Regions from separate parts of the Homo sapiens genome. Here regions 1 and 2 are each linked to region 3. The links are contacts of gene promoters, found by promoter capture Hi-C in blood cells and fetal thymus (Javierre and others, 2016). All regions are on one chromosome and are shown on one strand. Each heading gives the region's core, a stretch centred on a gene start or on the middle of the fragment in contact. The rest is flanking DNA. Distances are from core to core; before and after follow the strand shown. Region 1 overlaps ZNF852 (zinc finger protein 852). Region 2 has its middle 14 kb from the start of ZNF852. Region 3 holds the start of ZNF501 (zinc finger protein 501).

Region 1 (3,828 bases), core at 39-2,538, 230 kb after region 3:
CTTGAACCTGGAGGGCAGAGATTGCAGTGAGCCAAGATCACACCACTGTACTGCAGCCTGGGCAACAGAGCGAGACTCTGTCTCAATAACAACAACAAAACAACAAACCGGAGCTCATGACACGGCTGGAATTTTACCATTTGTGAATATGTATTTTAAATGTTTTCAGCTTGTTTTTTTGTATTTTTTTCCATTTTCTTTTAAAAGATATGCAGATAGGACTTTTTCCTCTTTAACTGTCTTATTTTGGGAGCCCCCAGATTTCAGGGAAGAGCCCCACACTATATGAGCACATGAGTTGGACATTTCTGGTTCCCCGCCCTGAGTTGGACATTGCCAGTCATGTCTGCAGAAGAACCATCCTGCCTGTTGGAAGCTGCAGTTTTACCTTCTGGTTCTTGCCTGCTCATCCCCTACCATACTAAGCCTCCAGAGTGTGGGAATGTGCACCATTTCCTAACTATATTAACTCACTGCCACCAGTCTGGTGTGGGTGCTCAGTACAAGTGAATCCTGAAAAAGCCTCAGGCTCTTGGATGGAGGAAAACTGGCTGCATTTGAAAGCCATACTTCAATTTCTATTGGTCACTGCTAGTATAAACTTTAATTATTGATTTAAACAAATTTTATCTGGATCCAATTATGTTGATAAATTATTTTTAGGTTTAATAATTTGTTAGATTCATTTCCTAGCTTTTCTAGGTTTAGAATAAATAATGATTTATTTGTCTTTTGATGTCACTTATGTTGTGCATTAGCAAGAACTTCAGAAAACATGGAACAGTAGATGTCTTTCTCTTAACGCTTGGGGGAATGTTTTTAGTATTCTGCAGTTTCATATCGTGTTCATTGTTGGATTCTGATGTTCTGTTAGATTTAGGAAGTTTCCTTCTAATCTTATTTCTAGAAGAAGCAGTGTAGTTTAGTGGTTAAGAGCACAGATTTTGTTCCCAGTGCCCTAGGTTCAAATCCTGAGTCCACCACTTTGTTAGGTGTGTGATCCTGGGCAAATCACTTACCTTCCTTGTATCTTATTCCTCCATCTATAAAATGGAGCTACCTCATAGGGTTGTGAAGAATACATTATTGTAACAATACTGGGCACACAGTGCACAGTTTCCCAATTATTATTATACTTACAGTTTTGTTTTCTGTTTTTTTTTTTGACAAGGTCTCCCTCTGTTGCTCAGGCTGGAGTGTAGTGATGTGACCATAGGTCACCTCAGCCTTGAACTCCTGGGCTCAAGAGATGCTCCTGCCTCAACCTCCCCTATAGTTAGGAATACAGGCATGTGCCACCATGCCCGACTAAGTTTTTATTTTTATTTTTTGTAAACATGGGGTTTCACTATTTTGCTCAGGCTGGTCTTGCGGTCCTGGCCTCAAGCGATCATCCTGCCTCAGCTTCTCTAAGTGCTGGGAATACAGGTGTGAGCCACCATGCCTGGCCTATACTTAAAAAGTTTTTATTAGGATTGGTTGCTATATTATATCAAGTTTAAAAACTCCATCATTGTAATTTTATGAGTTATGGTTTTTTCTTTTTGTAATTCATTTTCTTGACAAGTTTGCAAATATTTGCAATTTCCTTGTACTTTTCAAGTAAAATCTATTTGTTCATAGTGAATTTTTATTAAGTACAGAAGTAGATTCAATTTGGTAATGCTTTGCTAGCTTTGCAAAAGAATTTGGAAAAAATTTTGTTTATCTTATTGCTATGGAGAGTTTGTATAACATGGGAATTGTTCCTTGAAGGCTTGCTAAAAGTAACTGGGCCTGGTTCTTTGGGTGAGGGGATTGGGAGGGATATATCTTTAGCAACTGTTTTAGTCAGTTTGAGCTATTATAACAAAATACCATAGAGGATGGCTTAAACAACAGACATTTATTTCTCACAGTTCTGTAGTCTTCATAATTCAACATCAAGATGCCAGAATGGTTGAGTGCTGGTGAGGGCTCTCTTCCTGGTTTGCAGATGGCCCCCTTTTTCCTGTGTCCTCAAATTTCAGAGAGCAAGAGCACTGGTGCCTCTTCCAAGTCTTTTAAGGGCGTTAGTGAGAGTGACAGCCCCATTCTCATGACCTACTCCAATCCTAGTTATTTTCCAAAGGCCCCCCACCCCCAAATATAACATTTGGGGTTAGGGCTTCAACATAAATATTCATTCTATAACATTCCACTCCTAGCCACTCTATTCATATCCTTACATACAAAATAAGTTCATTCCATCCTAACAGCCTCCAAAGTTTTAACTCATTCTAGTATCAACTAACATTTAAAGTCCAAAGTCTCATCTAAATATCTAAATATCTAAATAAAGGCCGGGCATGGTGGCTCACGCCTGTAATCCCAGCACTTTGGGAGGCCGAGGCGGGTGGATCACTACGTCAGGAGTTCGAGACCAGCCTGACCAACATGGTGAAACCCCATCTCTACTAAAAATACAAAAATTAGCTGGGCGTGATGGTGTGCACCTGTAATCCCAGCTACACGGGGAGGCTGAGGCAGGAGAATCGCTTGAACCCGAGAGACAGAGGTTGCAGTGAGCCGAGATCGCACCATTGCACTCCAGCCTGGGCGACAGTGAGACTTTGTCTCAAAAATATCTAAATCAGATATGGGTGAGACCCAAGGTTTAGCTTATCCTGAGGCAAAATTCCCCTCCAGCTGTGAACCTATGAAACCAGACAAGTTATGTGCTTCCAAAATACAGTGATGGGATAGGCAGGATTAGGTATTCCAATTCCAAAAGTGAGAAATTGGAAGGAAGAAAGGGATGATGAGGCTGGGTGTGATAGCTCATGCCTTTAATCCTAGCACTTTGGGAGGCTGAGGTGGGAGGATTGCTTGAGTCCAGGAGTTCGAGACCAGCCTGGGCAACATAGGGAGACCTTATTTCTACAAAAATAATAAAAATAATTAGTTGGGCATGGTGGCTTGAGCATGGGAGTTCGAGGCTACAGTGAGTTGTGATCGTACTGCACTCCAGCCTGGATGACAGAGTGAAACCCTATCAATAAAAAATAAAAAAGGATGGGGGAGCAGGGGGATGATGGTCCTATGCAAGTCTAAAACTTAGCAAGGCACGTTTCATGAGATCTTAGGCTCATGAATAATCCTCTTTGGTCCTATACTGTCCTCTCCAGGACCCCCTGGGCGGTGGTCCTGACCCGATAGATCTGCCAGGCAGGGGTGACTCCCCCGTGGCTTTTGTTGGAGACCATCTGGCCTGTGGAAACTGGGGCAGTATCCCTCATGATCTCTAAATAGCCAAGAGAAGAGTCATTCTTGTATGGAACAATGGACATTCACAGCCTTCCTCATTCCTGGCTTTAGGACTTCAGATACAATCATGTCAGAGCTCAGGGCTTCAACATATGAATTTTGGGGGCACAGTTCAGTCCATAGCAATACTTCCATTCCCCTGACCTGCAACATGTCCAGTTACTTCGAAAAGTACTTGTCATCCACTATATTAATAACATGCTCATTGCCAGCCTATGAAACAAGTTGACCACTCCATACATAAGGTCATAGATAATATGACACATGCAGGTTGAGTTGTCAGCCCTGATAAGATCCCAAGACTTGCCCAACAAGTGCAGTCCCTGGAGCTACCTGGTCCAGTAATTAGAGGAGTATTCCTGATAAAGTCAAATATTGTCCTTGGCAGCCCCCACCTAAAAGAAGCTCAATAGCTGGTATGCCTGTTTGTCTATTGGAGATAACATGTATCACATCTGAGTATTATTTTGCCTCCTTTAGTTAAAATTACCCACAACACAGCCACCTCTGAATGGGGCCCTCAACAACAGCAGACTCGAGAGG
Region 2 (3,859 bases), core at 1,001-3,500, 210 kb after region 3:
TTGGCCTTCCAAAGTGCTGGGATTATAGGTGTGAGCCACTGTGCCTTGTCTGGTTCTTAACAATCTTTAATGTCAATGGGGGAAAGAAGAGATTTGGTCCTTGTTCCTCCAAGCGTGGCCCTCAGACTAACAGCTCTCCACCACCTGGGAGCTTGTTGGAAATACAGGCTTGTTGTGACACATTGAGGTGAAAAATAAAATTTTAAAAAGATAATAATACTAATACTAATAATAAGAAGAAATGCAGGCTCTGAGGCCCTACCCTAGTCCCACAGTATCAGAATCTTCTTTTTAACAGGCTCGCCAGGTGATTTGTTTGTACCTTCACATCTGAGAAGCACTGGTCTGGATGAAAACTTTTATTTACAATTCCTACTTCATCTCTAGGATCACTGATAGTCCCAAGGAGGAGAGATTGAGAAGCAAAGGGCACATAACAAGGTTAACGTCATCTCCTTGACAGCAACTAGCAGGTCATGCTGGAAGCTGTGGGCTCTAAAATCCCAAGGCAGAGGAGAAGGAAGCTGAAACCAGTGGAACCATTGGCCAGCCTTGGGGCCAAACATAACTGGGGGTGGAGCAGTTTTTTGTACAGCCCCACTCTCCAGTCAGGCAGAGGCCAACCTTATAACCTTATTGGTACAAACTGAAGAGGAGGTTTCTACTACCTTTTTCATAAGAAATCAGTTGGAAACCTTTCCACGGGGCCAAAACAAATTTAGAGCAGTGCTTCTCAACTTTAATGCATGGAAGCACCACTTGGGAGCTTTGCAAAAATCCAATGCCTGAGCACCACCTACAAGATTCTGATTTAATCGGTTTGAAATAAGGTAGAGAATTGCATTTAAAAAAATCTCCCTGTCTCTGCAGCCCAGGCATGGCCAATGTGGGCATAGCATCCCAACCCTGGGAGCACCCCGGTGGAGCAGGCTGCCTGGCACAGAGGAGCCAACTGGGCCCGTGGTGGTGGGTGAGGGGCCAGGCTGGAGCCGTGGTGGCAGAGCTGCAGGGTCCTTCATGATGAGAGATTGGGGGCACTTATATCTCCTCTGCGTAGTTGATAGTTTGGGTACTGACGACATGGCTGACAGTGTCAAAACCTTTCTCCAGGACCTTTCCAGGGGAGTCAAAGACTTCATCTGGGATATTTGTACCATCTCCAGCTAGACACTCCAATCCATCAAAAGAGGGGAGCAGCGTGGAAGAAGGGCAAGCATTGTCCTGGCACAGAGAATACCCCAGAGTATAGAGTGGGAGCAAGAGAGTGAGCCAGCAAGTGTTAGTAGAATTTTCCAGTGTTGCGCTTGGAGGGGTGGACTGCTCTGGTTCAGTCTACTCTTGCTTTATCGGGTGTTTATTCCTGGGCTTCAGTGAGTAACAGCGTGAATTACTTATGATCCATCACTGTGTGGAGATGCTTGGTCATGGCTGGAATTTTTCCTCGTATAAATTTCCAGGCCTTTGGGTGCTCCCCTTGTACATGCCTAGCAAAGTTGTGAATGCCATGTGGTTCCAAGATACAGCTGACCTGGCATTTGAAGCATCAGGGAGGAAGCCTCACCCATTCCCTAGTGTCCACAAAATAACTGCTGACATGCTCTCCAATCTTTTGCTGCAGGCTCTTTTCCCCATTCAAGGAATGTCTGTGAGTCTCTTTCCCACCCACCTTGTTGGTCAGCTGGTTACTCTCCGGCGTTTGTCTCTTCTTGACTCATTCTACTGCTTCAAATATGGTTGGTTCAGTAAAGGAATTGAAATGCACCAGCGGTTCCTCTAACACAGAGAGGAACTGGCTTTACTACTTTGGGTTTGGTTTTTTTGGCTTTTCTCACAGCAATGCAGTCCTCATATATTTTCCATGGCTGCCTTTTCTCTATCCTCTTTCCTTTATTCATTATCAGTGCAATGAGGCAAAGATCCCCGGCCAAGCATACCTCTTTGAGTTGCACCTCTCCTCCTTCGTGGTCTTCTTAAGCAACAGACTCTTCCACAAGACACTCTCACCTGCAGTCTGCCTTGAGCAGCTCAGCCTCTGCAGAGAAGTTCCCTTCACCACATATGTCTCTACCCAGATTGAAGGCTACTGAAGGCCTGAGTCACCTGCCATCGAGGGGATGGGTGGGATTGGAAGGAGGCTGTGGCAGCTCTTTTCCCATTTTACCTCCCCCTGCCAGGAAAGGCACGATTCATCCTGCCAAAGGCCCTCTGCATATTCCCTCTCTGAGGAATTGGAATCTTTATCTCTGGTGCACGTAAGGTAGAATCTTCCTGACACCAGCGTGTGGATTTTTAACACCACTGAGAGTCTGAAAGGACCACAGTTTTTTTAGTTTTAGTTTTTTTTTTTTTACAGCGATTTTTCTAGCATTTGCCAGTCCCTATGGCTGGATTGATTTGAATATTTTGTTTTTCTCCCTGTGCCATTTACCTTCCCACCTTTCCTTCCTGCCTTCTACCACCCTTGGGTGAATGAAATTTGTAATTCCAGCTGTTGCATTTTGTGGATTTGTTATTTTTGTCGTTTTTCTGTGAAGCACAAACATTGGATGTGGGAGGTAAAGGAGTGTCTCAGTTGCTCCTGGTCACTCCCTTTATAGCCATCACTGTCTTGTTTCTTGTAACTCAAGTTAGGTTTTGGTCTCTCTTGCTCCACTGCCAAAAAAAAAAAAAAAAAAAAAAAAGGTCTGAAGAGATGGGACAGGAAGAAAGAGAAAGACCTCACAGCCAGATCTTCAGACCTTCTGGGTTTTGGGGAGAGATTTTCTTTCTTCCCTTTGAAGGAGAAAAAGCTATTTTCACTGGTACATTTAAACTCCCCCAACTAGGCAGAGGTACCAATTCTGGACAAGTGCCACTGCAACACAATGCTCAGAGAGCTTGAACTTTTCATCTCTGTTGTGGGGTGCAGGGTAGAAATTTACTGTTGGCCACTGCTGGGTCTGTTTCATATTTCAAAGGAATATTGGGTGCTGGGGGCTACAAAGAGGAATTGAAGGGGTAAATTTTTTAAACTAATTAAACCTGTGATTGGTTGATGTTTTCCTGTCGTTTTAAGAGACTAAATGTGGGGGGCAGATGTCAAAATACTTGTACAATTTCAAAATGTCACAATGAAACGTGAGCTGGTTACACACACACAAATTTTCCCAGTGTTTTCTAAGTGCAGCTAAGGTTGAACTACCAATTTAGAGGTCTCCGGAGTGGTTCTCCAAGCATGGTGCCCCAAATGGCTGTGTCACCTGGGAACCAGTGATGAAGGCAAGTTCTCAGGTCCCTCCATAGACCTACTCAATCATAAATGTGAAAGTGGGGTCCAGTGATCAGAGTTTTAACACGCTCTCCAGATAAGACTACTGTGTTTCCGAACCATGTCATAAAGGCCAAAGAAACACACACAGGATGCAACTTGAAGGTCCCTTTTGTGGATTCCTGTAATAACCTACATGTGTTATTGAACCCCGATATTTAGATCCATGTACCTGATGTGCAGTAAGCCAAACACTGACACATCAGCACTTAGGAGCAGAGAAAGGTTTATTTAATTTGACCAAACAGAGTGGGTGAGAGACACTCAGAACCAAGTCTTATGTTCAAAGATTTCCCTTTGAACATAACTGGGGGCTTTTCTGAGTAAGGTAGGTAGGCAGGAGGTGGAATGCCTGACAATCAAAGCTGTTTGCATCTCTTGGTCTGATCAAACTTCTGGATGCCATCAAGAAGGTCTGCATCACCTAAGACTCATTGTGATTTATTTATTGTCACGTATGTCCATATAGAAGACCACCTAAACAGGCTTAGTGTGAGCAACAAGGCTGTTTATTCACTTGGGTGCAAGTGGGCTGAGTCCAAAAAGAGAGTC
Region 3 (3,848 bases), core at 1,123-3,622:
TTAAGCTCTTGTTCTAAACATGGCCAGAAGCCCATTCCATATTCTCTGAGGAAATACCTAATCACATTTGCAATGGGTTTTCCAATAATTTACTACCCATATTCCTTGATCCAACCACTACACCATTAAGGCATCATACTGAGCAGTTCAATAAGTGGTTTAAAGATGTGCTACCAGATGACTGTAGAGTCTTCAGTTCAGGTACTCTGATAAGAACTTAGTGCACTCTAGGACCTGTCCCATAACCAATTATTCCATAGCCGTTTTCACAGTGGGCCACCCTCACTGATTTGAGTAAAATGGTATCCATTTCTGTGTGGTCCTGCATTTTCTGCTGGGTCCACATTTAGTGGACATTGGTGGGTCCCACCATAGGTCTGCCATCACTTCTGATGGTAGTCTCACAACCACCACCATCCTGGGCTCTCTAGTTAGAGTTAACTTACCAAGAGACAGGTTGTTAGGAGCACAAGCAATACTGGCTTTTCTCCTGGGGGCTCTTCTCTTGAGGAAAGGCAGGAATTTGAGGCACTGAGGGAGGAAAAAGAGCCACTCATAAATTGCCAGCCTACTTCCTACACCTTCTAGATTCAGGGTAACTCAAGAACATCCCATCTCTAACCAAATGACCATTTTAAGTTCAAATGAAAGAATATCGTTATTATCCTAGAGGAGTATCTCCAGTGACAAAAATTAGTGAGTTGGCAGACTTCAGAGAGATGTGACAATGTACAAAGAGGGCAGGTCCTTCCTAGGACTAAGCATCTGGGCGTAAAAATTTCTTTATACGACATCAGGTTGGAGCCCAATGGCTCCCCTAAGTCTACTGGAAAAGCCATTGATTTCAAAAGTCAAATGCTGCAGGGCTACAATAGAGGGCAGTAGGACCAGTAATGGACTCAGTCAAGAGGTGTGGATTCTAGTCTCAGCTCTGCCACCAATTTGTTCAATGACCTAACACAGGTCACTCAGTCTCATCCATTTCTTATTTGTTAAATGAAATTGAAAAGCTAGATAATATTTAAAGCTTCTTGTAATATCAACATTCTACAAAGCTTTGATTCTATATACAGATGGGAAAAGAGCAAAAACCTCAAATCAAGCCCTTCCAGTCCATCTTTGATTGAATCTGTTTATTCATTTATTTGAAAAGTACTAAATGAGCTAGCCGTGAGGTGAATGGGTCTTGTTAAGAACGGGCTGAATCAACAGCAGGGAAACTTCCTGTCAGTTATCCTCCTACAATTAGAATTGGGGGAATTTCTCGAAAATAACAAGAGGATTGCCTTTGTGTAAGGAGTATCTGCTGTAAGATGTTAAGGACTCTTCATAAGGGAAAGGTTTCAAGAACCCTCCTAATGCAAAGAACACTGTATTCAAAGGCAGGAACCTGGTTTCCTGTCTAATACATCCCAATCCACTAGCATCTCTTAACTGACACTGAACAAACTGTTTAATTATTTTCAAACGTCTCTTTTATTTCCTCATTTGGTCAAATAAGCCAGCAATTATTTTCAAGCTTGCAGTCAACCTTTAATATTTAGCTCAAATGTGAAACTTCACACCTCTTCCTTGTGGGAAAATTTTGACTTTTCCAAGGCCCTTCCTCGTCTACATTCTCAAAGAATTTTACAAGTTTCTACTGTAGGACTTTCTAGTCTGATTACATTCTGTCTTCCACCAGCAAACTTACAAGTATGGCATGGGCTCCAGGACTAGGACTTTTGAACAAGTTACCTAACCTTTTTTTGCTCCAGTTTTTTCAACTGTTAAATGGAGACGATACCAGTAACTACTTTATAGGGTTGTCGTAATGAATAAGTGGGTTACTACATGGCAACTACTTAGAAGAATGCCAGCTGGTAAGCATTCAATAAATAGTGCCTGCTGTTAAAGTATTGAGTCTACATGTCTTCATACGGTACCTATTTTGTTGTTGTTAGAGAAGAATAAATAATGAAGGGAAGGCACTAATTCTTGCATATACTTACTTCAACCCGCACAACTTTGGGAAACGGCAAGGCAGGAAACAGTATTTACTTCTGGAAATCAGAAAACTAAAGTGCCCAGAAGTTCACTGACATGCTTAAGTATGTATAAATCGAACCCAGGTCCTCCGACTCCCAGCCTAGGGCTCTCGAACAGCCTCTCCTTTCTTCATGGCAAGTTTGCCCTAGGCCTCGGGCCTCCGCTCCACAGGCCCTCCAGGAAGAAAAACGCCCTGCTTCCCGAGGGAGGAGCTGGAATCGACCCGCGGCAGCCGGGCACAGCAGAAACCGCTCACCATGCGCTTCCCGCGGCGCTCCCCGCGGCGCTCCCCTCTCGCACCTTGCAACACTCAGGTCCCTGGGTGCTGCCCTGCGGAAAGGAGTAAGTCCCGGACGCGCCCAGCCGGCGTGACGTCAGCAGTCCGCGCCTCGGCTAATAACCACTACCGTCTCCTCTCTAGGAAGGTGGGAGCGGCTTCCGCTCGGTGGTTCCTTCCCGCACGCAGCTACGGGTTTCGGTGCTGCGCCGGTTAAGCCGGCACCAGAAACAACCTGCGACCCCACCTGGCGTGCGTCTTCCAGCACAGGGAAACGGGATGGAAGTCAGAAGGGTCGACCACAAGGAGCTCTTACTGTGCATCAGTTCATCCTGCAAGTCCGCCACATTTAGCTTCCTATGTTACTGTCCTTTGGGGATTCTCAAGGCTTTTCACAAAACTGGCTTCCACCTTCCTCACACACATCCTCATCTGGAAGAAAACTGACCTCTTCACAGAAACCCCTGACACCTTACTGACCCAGGATCTTTGTTCAGGTGGCCAAAAGAAAAAGTTCTGCAGGCCAGGCGCGGTGGCTCACTCCTGTAATCCCAGCACTTTGGGAGGCCGAGGCGGGCGGATCACCTGAGGTCAGGAGTTCAAGACCAGCCTGCCCAACATGGAGAAACCCTGTCTCTACTAAAAATACAAAAATCAGCCGGGTGTGCTGGTGGGCGCCTGTAATTCCAGCTACTCCGGAGGCTGAGGCGCGAGAATCACTTGAACCTGGGAGGGGGAGGTTGCAGTGAGCAGAGACTGAGCCACTGCACTCCAGCTTGGGTGATAGAGTGAGACTCTGTCTCAAAAACAAAACAAAACAAATCAAACACTGCTTTGGGCTCAAATCCCTGATTCTCAGTGTATGAACTTTGCAACTTTACCTCTCTGTGCCTGCTTCCTCACTTACCAGGTATAATAATGGTACCACAGGGTTGTTGTGAGGATTAAGTGAGGTTAATACGTGTGAATTACTAAGAACATCTAGTATTTTTTAAATCTTCAGTAAATGTTAGGACTATTGTCTGTGTCTCAAATCCCAGCTCCAGTACCTATTGTTCTGCCCTGACTTCACTGACCTTTCAGGGCCTCAAGGTAGCACACCCATCCCTTTCTACAAAACTTCAGATCTTGCTGGCTCTAACTCAGGAAATATTTGCACACATGGGCTCATCTTGACAGGTAAAGTCCAGAGATAAAGGCATGAGTGGAGAGTACCTTATTCACTTCCAAGCATTCCTACTGATCTGCAATCTCAGGACAATAGGGCTGTGTGCACACCATCATATCCCTAGTGTGCAGCATATAGAAGTGAACACTTGCTGTATAAATTAATGAGATGCAGCAGAGAAATTATCCATTCCAGGCCAGGCATGGTGGCTCACACCTGTAATCCCAGCACTTTGGGAGGCCATGGGGGGCGGATCACGAGGTCAGGAGTTTGAGACCAGCCTGACCAACATGGCGAAACCCCGTCTCTACTAAAGATACAAAAATTAGCCGGGCGTGGTGGTGTGCCCCTGTAATCCCAGCTACTCAGGAGGGT

What was found. Contacts are between HindIII fragments. The CHiCAGO score rates a contact against its expected background, and 5 or more counts as called.
Region 1: a fragment that was not itself captured here is called in contact with the fragment with the promoter of ZNF501 in region 3 in 12 of 17 cell types (erythroblasts, total CD4 T cells, non-activated CD4 T cells and 9 more); the score reaches 9.1 in erythroblasts.
Region 2: a fragment that was not itself captured here is called in contact with the fragment with the promoter of ZNF501 in region 3 in 1 of 17 cell types (erythroblasts); the score reaches 5.3 in erythroblasts.

What each region holds. Positions count from the first base shown.
Region 1 is chr3:44,492,445-44,496,272 of GRCh38, reverse strand. It overlaps ZNF852 (zinc finger protein 852), which reads left to right. Exons shown (of 4, transcript NM_001423469.1): 4 at 1-3,828. Among named protein-coding and RNA genes, the nearest start is that of ZNF852, 16 kb to the left of the region's middle. The HindIII fragment of the contact is 5,935 bases long and covers 1-3,828 here.
Region 2 is chr3:44,522,976-44,526,834 of GRCh38, reverse strand. It overlaps the pseudogene EI24P3. Among named protein-coding and RNA genes, the nearest start is that of ZNF852, 14 kb to the right of the region's middle. The HindIII fragment of the contact is 5,662 bases long and covers 1-3,859 here.
Region 3 is chr3:44,728,159-44,732,006 of GRCh38, reverse strand. It overlaps ZNF501 (zinc finger protein 501), which reads right to left and starts at 2,372. Exons shown (of 3, transcript NM_001258280.2): 1 at 1,992-2,372; 2 at 447-531. LOC105377056 (a long non-coding RNA gene) reads left to right here and starts at 2,481. Exons shown (of 3, transcript XR_940788.4): 1 at 2,481-3,215. RefSeq lists an enhancer at 2,492-2,561. The HindIII fragment of the contact is 3,071 bases long and covers 1,522-3,848 here.